2 separate regions of the Homo sapiens genome follow, and region 2 is linked to region 1. The links are contacts of gene promoters, found by promoter capture Hi-C in human tissues and cell types (Jung and others, 2019). All regions are on one chromosome and are shown on one strand. Each heading gives the region's core, a stretch centred on a gene start or on the middle of the fragment in contact. The rest is flanking DNA. Distances are from core to core; before and after follow the strand shown. Region 1 holds the start of ERVFRD-1 (endogenous retrovirus group FRD member 1, envelope). Region 2 has its middle 57 kb from the start of ERVFRD-1.

Region 1 (6,256 bases), core at 93-2,592:
TTGAGGTCAGGAGTTCGAAACCAGCCTGGCCAACATGGTGAAACCCCGTCTCTACTAAAAATACAAAAAAATATATAATAAAATAAAATAAATTAGCCAGGCATGGTGGCAGGTGCCTATAATCCCAGCTACTTGGGAGGCTGAGGCAGGAGAATTGCTTGAACCCAGGAGGCAAAGGTTGCAGTGAGCCAAGATCATACCACTGCACTCCAGCTTGGGCGACAGAGCAAGACCCCATCTCAAAAAAATAAATAAATAAAACAATAATAATACTAACAGCCAAAAGCTGGAAACCACTCTCATGTCCATCAATGAGTAAATGGATAAACAAATTGTGGTATATCTATACAATGGAATACTCTTTCAGCAATACAAAAGAATGTATTACTGATATACACAACACAAATAGATTTCAAAAGCATTATGCTAGCAGAAAGAAGTCAAACACAAAAAGCATGTTGTGTGATTTGATTTACATTAGAAAGGTAAATTTATGTTTATGGAAAGCAGTTTGGGCCAGGTGTGGTGGTTCATGCCTGTAATCCCAGCACTTTGGGAGGCCAAGGACAGCAGATCACTTGAGGTCAGGAGTTCAAGATCAGCCTGGCCACCATGGTGAAATCTTGTCTCTACTAAAAATACAAAAATTAGCTGGGCATGGTGGTGCACACCTGTTAATTCCAGCTATTCAGGAGTCTGAGGCACAAGAATCACTTGAACCCGGGAGGTGGAGGTTGCAGTGAGCCAAGATTGCATCACTGCACTCCAGCCTGGGAGACAGAGCGAGGCTGTCTCCAAAAAAAAAAAAGCAAGCAGTTCTATCAGGAGGCCATTAGGTTAAGCTGGTTCTGTTAGAGTAGGTAGTCAGGCAGACATGAGCAGGGCAGGAGAGGGCCCCCAGCTCAGGAATGTCAGGCGACCATCAGGTGATGATCAGGCGGTTGTTACACTGTTTCTCTAAAATAATAATAATGGGTTGCAGCCAGTACCAGGGAAAGACAGTCTCCCAAAAGACAGGAAACACCGGAAGCTGGTGATCAGCAACTTCCTGATAAGATCTCCGAAGCTGGGCAAGTGGGCTCAAGCATGCGCACTAAGAAGCAAAATGACAGTTTAACCAGTATGTGACCTTCCTCTAGGAACACCTGACTGATAAGGGAAAAATGTCTCAAGAAAGCATGCGCACAACTTCAGTAAACAAATGCACATGTGGCTCCTCCCAAGTGCTGACAGGCCACTGCACAGCAGACAGCCCACCCCAAGGAAAAAAATCCAAGGAGGAGAAATGGAAACCCCGGAACCATGCCGATGTATAAAACCCCAAGTCAAGGGCTGAACAGGGCACTTGGATCTCTCAAATGGTGCAGTGACTCGGATACCTTCCCTAGTGGTAAGACACCTCTACGCCTTGCCTTCTTCGGCTGGAGGCGTTCAACCCTCGTACGTGGTTTCGTTCTCCTCTTTCACTCTCCTGCTTACTAACCTACCCCTGGAACGATTCCTCTCAACCACAGTGGCTCTGCTCCCCCTGGCTGCTCTCTCTGCTCACCCCGAAGGATGGCTTGCAGGGGTGGGAAGGACCTTGGAGTCTGCACTAAGTAGACCTGAGACACTAATGGCCCCCCCAGACAGGAGGCTGATGAGAGCGGTAGGGCTAAAACCTACAACCATGTAGTATCTGGGGTTTCCTCTGCTTTTTCAACTAAAATCAGCTCTTTCCCAAAAACCCACCACCACCTATTTTCCTTTCTCTGTATGTATTCCAAAATGACCTCGCACACCCATTGGACCAACTGCCTTGGGGGTAAGTCTGTCTTTTCTCTGTTCTTACTTTGCATGCCCTGCAACTTTCTTCTCTGCCTTAAACACACATTCCCTATTTGTTATTCATGCACCCGCAGCTCTTGCTGTGTTAGCCTGGCAACCAAGAGATGGACTCCCTTACGGATGTCCCTTGATATTTATACTTGTTACCCTACCAGCTCGGATGACCTCCAACCCTTTCCCTGTCTGTTGGCTCACTGCCGGGATAGACACTAATCAGAACCTTAGCTCTGTCAGCTCCTTATGACTTACCATATGCTTTTCATCCCTGTTATGCTCCAGGGCCATGTTTCTCCCTGGCTTTTGAATGGTTTGCTTGCTTGCATAGGACCTCACTCTGTAGCCCTTAAGGACCCCACCCACTCGCTTTTTTTCTGAGTTAGCACCCCTTTGTGGGGAAGGAAAATTCTCTGCCGTTTGCAGGGTCTTATCCCAAACACCAAGTCCTCCAGAGGTTCCTCCTTTATATCAAGAGGGCAAATAAACGTTGCCCTCTCAAATCCAAGGGCTGCTGTTTCTGCAAACATATGAAGGCTTTCCATGAGTATTCCTCTTGCTTCCTCCCGCTTTCTCCTGTAGCAGAGGGATTGTTCTACCTCGTTAAGCATTTGTTCTGCATGTTACCCTGGGAGGATGAAGAATCCCAAATACAAATTTTCCTCCATTCCTCTAATCACCTCCAGGCCCTTCTCAATATGTATCAGGACCTTCAAAGTTATATTTGAAGGGAGAGAAGTCCAGCCCCCTTGCAGCAATTGGCAGAAAAACAGGCTTCTCGTCTTCTTAAAGAACATGGGAAATGAGAATCTGAGAAGAGATAATCATTCTGTTGCTAGAATGCTCTGAACAAGGGTCACTATAAGGTCATGGAGACAAGGATATAGGACAGCCCAAGGAGGCAGATGCAAGAGACCAAAGTACCCATAGAACAGAGATGAAGACTAGTTCCAGGCTACAAACACAAAACAGATTACCACTGCAACACAGATGAAGGCTGGTCCAGAAATGGGATGGGATCAGGGTAGGGGTACCCAGTAAACACTGGGTTCATTCCAGAACCCCTTGGATGAGTGGGAGGGCACCCTGTTCACTGTAGTCTGCCATAGGCACAGGATTAAGAGAACAAGGGGAGATGCCCTCTTCTCGCCTCTGTTCTTTCTTTACAAACGGGTAATTGTGCCTCAATAAAACAAGATGGGACCAAGGTTAGGGGTACCTGGTAAGCACTGGTTCATTCTGGAACCCCTAGAATGAATGGGGGACACTGCCATACGCAAAGGAAAAATGGATGAATGGGGTAATGCCCTACCCACTCTGGTCTGCTGTAAGTTCAGGAAAAAGACAGTAGGGAAATTGGAGGGGTTGCCTTCTTTTTCTCTTCTCTCCTCTGTTCTCTCTGTGGACAGGTAATCAAGTCTCTGTACCACAGGACACACTACTAGGATACATCCTCAAGAACTGGGAAAAGTTTGACTCCCAAACCCTAAAAAGGAAAAGGCTAATATTTTTCTGTAATACAGCCTGGGTTGAATAAAAGCTCTAGGACCAGGAATCTTGGCCAGAAAATAGAAGCACAAATTTAAATATGATCCATCAACTAGATTTGTTTTGCTACCACCAGGGAAAATGGACAGAAATCCCCTATGTGCTGGCCTTCATGGCCCTAAGAAACAACCCTGACCTTTGTTGGGCTTGTAAAACAGATCCATGGCCATAGTCATGCAGCCCCTTCCCATTGGTTCAGAAGGCCCCTCATCAGGTTTACCCAGAGCTCAAGCCCCATTGCCCCTTCTACCCAATTATATCGAAGTCTCCCAGAAGCCTTCTCCTCCCTACCCAGGGCCATCCTCTGGACACCACCTCCTTAAGTTATGCCCCATTCAGGAGGTTTAGTGGTCCCAGTGGACCCACTGGAGTCCAGACTCCATTCACTGTGCAAGACCTGAGCCAAATTAAAATGGAACTAGGGAAGTTTATGGAGGACCCTGACAAATATATCAAAGTGTTTTATAAACTGGGCTTAACATCTGAACTCACCAGGAGGGACCTCTCAGTCATACTAGGGCAAACTCTGCCTAAGGGAGAATGTGACTCCATTATGGTGGCGGTCCAACAATTTGCAAACACAATGCACATGCCTGACACTGGTGGCTACCCTGTGGGGGCCACCATAGTTCCCCAGGTCAACCCCAATTGGGATTACAATATCCAGGGGAGTACATGAGCAAGGACCCACATGTTCCTCTATCTGATAGAAGGAATGAAAGCTAGCAGAGCAAAGCCTGTGAACTGTAATAAATTGGGCTTGACAGATCAAGGGCCTTATGAAAACCTCACCATTTTCTTAGACAGGCTAGAAGAGGCCCTAGTGAAACACACTAACCTAGACCCAGACCCACTAGAAGGACAACTGTTCATAAAGGATCATTTCCCTAACTCAAACAACACCAGATATTAGGAGGAAACACCAGAAACTAGCACTGGATCCCAGTACCCCTATGCCTGACATCTGCAAAGTAGGTTCCTTGGTCTTTTACAACCAAAACCAGGAGGAGTAGGAAAGGGCTCAAGAAAAGGAGAGGCAAAAGGAAAAGCAACAGCTCCAACTACTGACTGCCCTGCAAACCTGCCAGCCACCTCTGGCAGGCCCCAGGGAGATCCCTTTGCCCAAATGCTACTTCTGTGGGGAGCCAGGCCACACAAGAAGGCAGTGCCCAAACTGATGGGGACACCCACCCCCAGCTCTCCATGCTCCAATTGCCACAATCTTGGCCACTGGGAAACAGGACTACCCTGAAAGCTGAAAGGCCCTCAGGACATCCCAACTGGATGACCTTCAGCTCCTTGAGCTGAAGGGGGCCCTACGCTCCACTTGGCTCCTGGATTAAATAACACTATTGAAGGGACAGAGCCAAGGGCTGCCTTGGATGTGCCCAGTAGGACTGTAAGTTTTCTTTTGGACATGAGGGCTGCCTGCTCAATGCTTACCTCTTTTCCCAGGCAATTATCCTCCTGGGAGGATATGAAGTGCCCGTAACCTGGAGGTTTACTCCTCCTCTGTGCTGTCTCTGGGGGAAAACCGTCTTTTCTCATTCATTTTTAGTGATGCCAGAATACCCTACATACCTTTTGGGTAGAGATATTTTGCTCAGACTAGGGGCTCAGTTAACCTTTCCTCCAGGGCCAACACCCCCTTTTTCAAATGCAATCTTATGCCTCAAGGAAACCATACACAAGGATGAACTGTTCACAGACCTTCCCATTTATCCAGAGGTCTGGGCCTCAGGAATAACAGGAAAGGCCATAATGGCAATGCCTATAGTAATTCAGCCCAAGAATCCTTCTAGCTATCCTTGTAGAAGGCAGTTTCCTCTTCAGCTGGAGGCCAAAGAGGGATTTCAGCTTCTGACTGAAAAATTTCAAAAACATGGATTATTAATACCCTATAACACCCCATCTTACCTGTTAAAAAGAGCAATGAAAAATACAGGCTAGTCCAGGACCTGAGAATCATAAATGAGGCAGTAGTCCCAATACACCCAATGATCCCCAACTCATATGTAATTCTTCCCCAACCTCCAGATGCTCAGTGGTTTCCAGTCTTAGACCTTAAAGACTCTTTCTTTTGTATCTCCCCCTCGACCCATCCTCCCAATTTCTATTTGCATTTGAGTGGGAGAATGAAAAGGAAGGAGTCAACAGCTCACCTGCACAGTGCTTCAACAGGGTTTCAGAGACAGTCCCCATTGGTCTGGGCAAGCCCTGGCTAGAGATTTGCAGGACCTAAGTCTTGAGAGGAGAGAGTGTCTCCTACAATACATGGATGACCTGTTAATCTGCTCCCCAACAAGAGAACTGGGAATCCAACATCTAGTCCAAACACCAAACTTCCTTGCAGACAGAGAATACAACGTGTCTGAAAACAGACTCCTAAAGTACCAAGTCTTGTTGTTAGAAAACCCATAGGTAACAGTTGAGCAGTGTTCCACCCTTAACTCAGTTTCCTTACTGCCACTACCAGGAGACCATAACACCACATTTGTGTTGTGAGATACTTAACCAAATTTATGCCAGCCAGGAAGATTTAAAAGATCAGCTCCTAGATAATCCACATGACATACGGTTTTCAGGTGGGAATAGCTTTGTCAGGGATAGAGCTAGATATGCAGAGTATGGTACAATGTCCCTTCAACAAATTACAGAGGTTAAAGCTCTGTCCCCGGGGACCTCTGTGCAATTAGCCAAACTCACTGTGCTGACGAAAGCCCTAAACTAGGGGAAAGAAAAGGAGTATATACAAATTCCAAATACACGTTTCTGGTTCTTCACACTCACACAGCTATCTGGAAGGAGAGGGTGTACCTAACAGCTCCAGATACTCAAATTAAATATGGGCCTCAAATCTTAGAGCTATTAGAAGCTGTTCATTTGC
Region 2 (6,323 bases), core at 682-3,181, 58 kb before region 1:
TTCCCTCTGGTGGGGTTTGTGGTCTCACTGGCGCATGAGTGAAGCTGTGGACCTTCGCAGTGAGTGTTACAGCTCTTAAGGCTGCCCGTCTGGAGTTGCTCGTTCCTCCCAGTAGGTTCGTGGTCTTGCTGGTTTCAGGAGTGAAGCTGCAGACCTTCACAGTGAGTGTTATAGCTCATAAAGGCAGTGTGGACCCAAAGACTGAGCAGTAGCAAACTTCACTGCAAAAAGCAAAAGAACAAAGCTTCCACAGCGTGGAAAGACACCCGTACAGAAAAGTACCCGAGCGGGTTACCACTGCTGGTGCAGGCAGCCTGCTTTTATTCTCTTATCTGGCCACACCCACATCCTGCTGATTGGTCCATTTTACAGAGAGCCGAGTGGTCTGTTTTGACAGGGCGCTGATTGGTGCGTTTACAATCCCTGAGCTAGACACAAAGGTTCTCCACCTCCCCACTAGATTAGCTAGATACAGAGTGTGGACACAAAGGTTCTCCAAGTCCCCACAAGAGTAGCTAGATACAGAGTGCCGATTGGTGTATTTACAATCCCTTAGCTAGACATAAAGGTTCTCCAAGTCCCGCCCAGACTCAGGAGCCCAGCTGGCGTCACCCAGTGGATCCCGCACGGGGCCGCAGGTGGAGCTACCTGCCAGTCCCGTGCGGTGTGCGCGCACTCCTCAGCCCTTGGGTGGTCGATGGGACTGGGCGCCGTGGAGCAGGGGCGCCGCTCGTCGGGGAGGCTCGGCCGCACAGGAGCTCACGGGCGTGGGGGAGAGGCTCAGGCATGGCAGGCTGCAGGTCCCGAGCCCTGCCCCGCAGGGAGGCAGCTAAGGCCCGGCGAGAAATCGAGAACAGCGCCGGTGGGCCAGCACTGCTGGGGGACCCAGCACACCCTCCGCAGCCGCTGGCCCGGGTGCTGAGCCCCTCATTGCCCGGGGCTGGCAGGCCGCTCCGAGTGCGGGGCCCACCGAGCCCACACCCACCCGGAACTCACGCTGGCCCGCAAGCACCGCGCGCAGCCCCGGTTCCCGCCCGCCCCTCTCCCTCCACACCTCCCTGCAAGCTAAGGGAGCCGGCTCCCGCCTCGGCTAGCCCAGGAAGGGGCTCCCACAGTGCAGCGGTGGGCTGAAGGGCTCCTCGAGTGCCGCCGAAGTGGGCGCCAAGGCCGAGGAGGTGCTGAGAGTGAGCGAGGGCTGTGAGGGCTGCCAGCAGGCTGTCACCTCTCAGCGCCATCTCGGCTCACCGCAACTTGTGCCTCCTCACTGCTTTAGCCTCCCGAGTAGCTTGGATTACAGGCTCCTGCCACCACGTCCCCCTGATTTTTGTATTTTTAGTAGAGACGGGGTTTCACCATGTTGGCCAGGCTGGTCTTGAACTCCTGACCTCAAGTGATCCGCCTGCCTCGGCCTCCCAAAGTGCTGGCATTACAGGCGTGAGCCACCACGCCTGGCTTGGAGGAGCCCTTTAAAGGAAAAAGAACATTGCAGGATCCTTAACAATAACTAAAAATAAAATTCCTTCAAAAGGCAGGATGTAGTGCCCATGAGTTACTGTTGTATTGTTTCCCCTTTATATAACCTTTTTCCACAATTACTTTAGTAACTTTGGTTGTTCTCGTTGAATGTCTATGTGATTTCTCTGCTGTAAGCTCCTGAGGTTGGATTTGCGCTGCACAGCAGATCCCTACAAGTCCCCTTCTCAGTGTTCCTTGAAGATCTTTTGTTTTATTGCTTGTTTCATAGTTCCCCGGGTGATCTCAGCTGCAATATACTCCTTTGCAAAGTTGCTGTAACCAGGCCAAAACCTGTCCCTAGATTTAGAATCCATGGTTTGGGATGACTGTGACGTTAATCACCCCATGCTCTCTGTCAACATGACCCAACACTTTCAGTACATCCCATCCTCATCCTCAGATCCTCATCCTCAGATCTTCAGCACTTACAGCATCTATAGGCCTTTCAACCATTGCACCAGCAAGCAAAACAACAATTATAGAGAAAATGGACAGAAGGCGAAACAAAAGAAAAGTTTTATGATCAATGAGCAAATTATAGGCAAACGTATTCATATTTAAGCATCAGGGGATATTTCATTTGTCCTGAGTAATTGATATGCTTTTTCTCATGGAAACAAGATTTTTGCAATTAACTGATCATGTTTTCCTTTACTGTAAAGGTCAGAGACAAATTTGATGCCCAATATCAGTAACTAGTAACTTATGGGTCCATCTGGGTTTTACATTTTCTCTCCATACCATCTTTTCTACCTAAATTATTCCTCAAAATTATTCCTCATCCTCTCTTTTTTAGCTACTATCTTTTTTTTTTTTTTTTTTCCTGAGATGGAGTCTCACTCTGTCGCCCAGACTGGAGTACAGTGGCACGATCTTGGCTCACTGCAACCTCTGCCTCCAGGGTTCAAGCGATTCTCTTGCCTCAGCTTCCCAAGTAGCTGGGACTACAGGTGCACACCACCACACCCAGCTAATTTTTAAAAAAATATTTTTGGTAGAGACAGGGTTTCACTATGTTGGCCAGGCTGGTCTCAAACTTCTGACCTCAAGTGATCCGCCCACCTCAGCCTCCCAAAGTGCTGGGATTACAGGCATGAGTCACTGCGCCCAGCCTTTAGCTACTATCTTTGATTACATGTGATTAGCCACATGTGAGAGCTCTGATGCTCTCTGAATGTATAAAGAAGCATGGGCTCTGCTCCTCCGTGTGCTGAGCCAATATGTTCCACAGTAGAAAGGGAGGGGCTCCAGAACTGCGGCTCATAGCAAGTTTTCTTCCATATACATCCACCACCAGGGTGCCAGGTGGAACAACTTCATCTGTTGGCAATTTCACACCCTAAATCAATCTTTCCTTGCAACTTCCCCCTGCCTCTGGTGTGAAACTGGCCCAGACTTCCATCTCTGCCATTATCAATCTCCCCTCCAGAAACCAATGCCCTTCCCAGAAATCCGGCATCAGACATGTTTTTATATGTTTGACCCTCAAAGACAGAAGTCAGGGTTAGGATTCCATTTCTTTTTCATTCAGGAGGCACCTCTGCCACTTTGTAATATCATCAATGCAAGCTTGACTTATTGGTGCCTGAAAACATCCAAGCCCGAAATACTCTACCTGGAGCCTGGTCCAGGCCCTACCCAAAGCCCTGCAACATCCATCTGTAAGCTTCATCACTGAAAGGCGCACAGACTTTCCAGCTGCAGGTGGAGGAAGTGCACCCTCCACTCTCCTCACGTTCCCCTAGAAGGGAAGGGCTTCTCTCCATCCTCACACACACACACTGCTCCTTATGACCGTGCCTCCACCTGGCAAGAAACATATTTCAGGCTCCCCACAGGCTGCTTATTAGATGCAAAGGAAAACTAGTAATTTACACCATGGGGAAATCAGTCAACGCCCTGGAGGGGAGGAATGATCAAAATCAACACCGCCAATGAGGTGAGAAGGACATCAGTGTCTCCAGAAATGAGACCTTTTTTGAGACGGATGCAGGATCACTTACGCAGTATTTCATTTTCTCGCCTCATCGTGAGGAAACATCAGACAAACACAATGAAGAACATTTGTTCTGTCTTTAAAAGGCACAGGGAAACTTATTCTGCTGCCTGTCATTGTTATGAAAGATAAAGGAAGGCTGTGGGAATGTTTCTGATTAAAGGAGGCCAGACAGACATGACAACTAGATCCAAATGTCGGGCCCTAGACTGGATCCCATCCCAGAGGAAATAAGAAAGGGCATTATTGGGTCAACTGTCATCATGGAAATACAGACTACCATTGAATAAATTAAATCAATGTTAAATTTACTCAAGTGGATAAATACTCGGTGGTTCTGTAAGAGAATATTCCTATTCTTAGCAAAGATGCACTCAAGTATTCTAGGGTAAAGGTGACTATATAGGCATGCGTGTTTTAGAAAAGCAATTTTATCTGTGTTAACAGTAAGTGGATCTCAGTAAAGGGTGTGTGCTATTGTTAGTCTCAAAGCTTTTCTGAAAATTTGGAATTATTTCCAAATGAAAAGTCAAAACAACAACAACAGCAGTTCAATCTCATCTAGAAGAGTTTGGCCTCAGTAATAGAACCTGGGTTTAAATCTCATCTCTGGCTCTTCAATGAGCTACTTCACTCTCTGCAGATCTTGATCTCCTCACCAATAAAATGGGCATAATCATAGTCGCTGTATCACAGACTTGTTAGAAGACTGAAAATTACAAATTAAACTTTACAAAGCATTGAGAACAGGGTCTGGCACATAGTCAGCTTCATATAAATGTTTAACAAATATATTGCCACCATTCTGAAATTGAAAACAAAAGAAGCACACAAAAATTTTCCAAATCTAAGAATTTCCTCTTGGGATCTGCTGACTGACTAAAATAATGTTAAGTCAACGTTTTCATAGATCGAGCATGAAGTGTGTGTTAATTGTTGGGTGACCAAGCAGAATCAAGTACAGTTGATCAAGCAGGGTTGGAAACGTGGGCGAGCTTAAGCTACTCACGCATTTCACTTTTGCAAAAGCCGTGAGATATATTAAGTAGATATTGAGTTAAAATAAGCACAGATAAAATAACTACTCGGTAATCTTCCAAACACATCTTTGGTATAATACTGAGCTTTCAGGAAATCAAGGGGGGAAATATGATAATATCCTATATGGCCTAGCCTTGCTATAGGATGCAAAGTAATTAAACCTCACAGGAGAATGACTTATTACATACCAAACACGTGGAAAAGGAAAGGCAAAAACTGCCTATCTTTGGCTTCTACAGTAATTTTTTCCTGGAGGAGAGCAGAGTTGGGGCAACTAAGAGTTTCTTTTGAAAGCTCCCAAAGTCTCTGGCCATTTGGCCGGGAAAGCCTTCCTGTCGGCAGGGCCTGAGTGAGCACTGTCTTCAAACCTCCCAGGGTCAGGTAGCTGCAGGCATCTTTGGGAAGCCACATGGTTAAACCTCCAGATTCCAGGAAGATTACTACCTAAAGCATCCAGGTGGATGGCAGGTCAAGGTGACTGCATCGAAGAAGTGTGATGAACGTTCACAGAGGTTTCTGCAAAGATTTACAACTCATCCATCCCTCTAGCTATGCTAAGCTTTATCCTGATCAAGCCAATCCACCCATGAGTTTGCACCTGGACCACACTGTCTTGGCCTCTTAAATCTCATAGAATTCCTCTTACTCTCTGACATGATATGACAGCCCTGCTCCTGTTATAAGAAATAGTTTCACTGTTCTGTTGATAAAGTGATGAACTTTTTTATATTATTACTTTAAACAAGAAATGGATTTAAACAGCAAGACACTTGACTTGAAGGAAAGCTATCTAGGATCATTTATTTTAGAGAAATTTATCCCACCTTAAAAACTGATTGCCGTACATGTAACAGCTGTGTACAAAAAGTCATGAGTCTCCTTGATTTCACAATGATAATTGAAACATATTGGAATTCTCTAATCAAATAAGTATGCAGAGGAGTCTGTTGTTGTCATTGCTATTGTTTGTCAAACAATGAAAGTAAAAAACTAAATGGGAAACAAAAATAAAAGTGGAACAAGCACACCACTAATGCATTCTTTTTTTTTTTTTCCAAGACAGAGTCTTGCTCTGTCACCCAGGCTGGAGTGCAGTGGTGCGATCTCGGCTCACTGAAACCTCTGCCTCCCGGGTTCGAGTGATTCTGCTGCCTCAGCCTCCTGAGAAGATGGGATTACAAGAGCACACCATCATGCCTGGCTAATTTTTGGATTTTTAGTAGAGACGGGGTTTCACCATGTTGGCCGGGCTGGTCTCAAACTCCTGATCTCAGGTGATCTGCCCATCTCGGCCTCCCAAAGTGCTAGGATTACAGGCATGAGCCACCATGCCCGGCCTAAGGGGTTCTTTCATAAGAAGGTTTTTCTCTACCTCATTTTCTTTTATTGTCTATATCACTAGCCATTTAGTTAAAAAAATAATAATAGTGTTATACAATAGATCTGATCACATATGTCAGTTACTTGATGTACAGTGAAGGGAGAGAACAAATGATGGGATAGAGAGAATTATGTGTACAAGTCAGGATGGGCTGGGCTCCAACTGTAATTTGCTAACTGAGAGTGTTTTTGTGTCTGTGGGTTCTGGTGTAAGGTAGTGAATCATGTGCATTTTCTTTTTTTTTTTGAAACGGAGTCTCACTCTATCGCCCAGGCTGGAGTGCAGTGGTGCAGTCTCGGCTCATCACAACCTCCACCTACCAGGCTCAAGCGATTCTCCTGTCTCAGCCTCCCAAGTAGCTGGGATGACAGGTGCGCTCCACTACACCTG

Evidence for each region. Contacts are between HindIII fragments. The study calls those that stand out against the background at their distance.
Region 2: a contact is called between a fragment that was not itself captured here and the fragment with the promoter of ERVFRD-1 in region 1, in 2 of the 25 tissues and cell types used here (adrenal gland and spleen).

The regions. Positions count from the first base shown.
Region 1 is chr6:11,106,811-11,113,066 of GRCh38, reverse strand. It overlaps ERVFRD-1 (endogenous retrovirus group FRD member 1, envelope), which reads left to right and starts at 1,342. Exons shown (of 2, transcript NM_207582.3): 1 at 1,342-1,390. All of the region lies in intron 1 of SMIM13 (small integral membrane protein 13), which reads right to left. The HindIII fragment of the contact is 12,472 bases long and covers 1-6,256 here.
Region 2 is chr6:11,165,798-11,172,120 of GRCh38, reverse strand. No RefSeq gene overlaps it. Among named protein-coding and RNA genes, the nearest start is that of ERVFRD-1, 57 kb to the right of the region's middle. The HindIII fragment of the contact is 5,253 bases long and covers 1-4,557 here.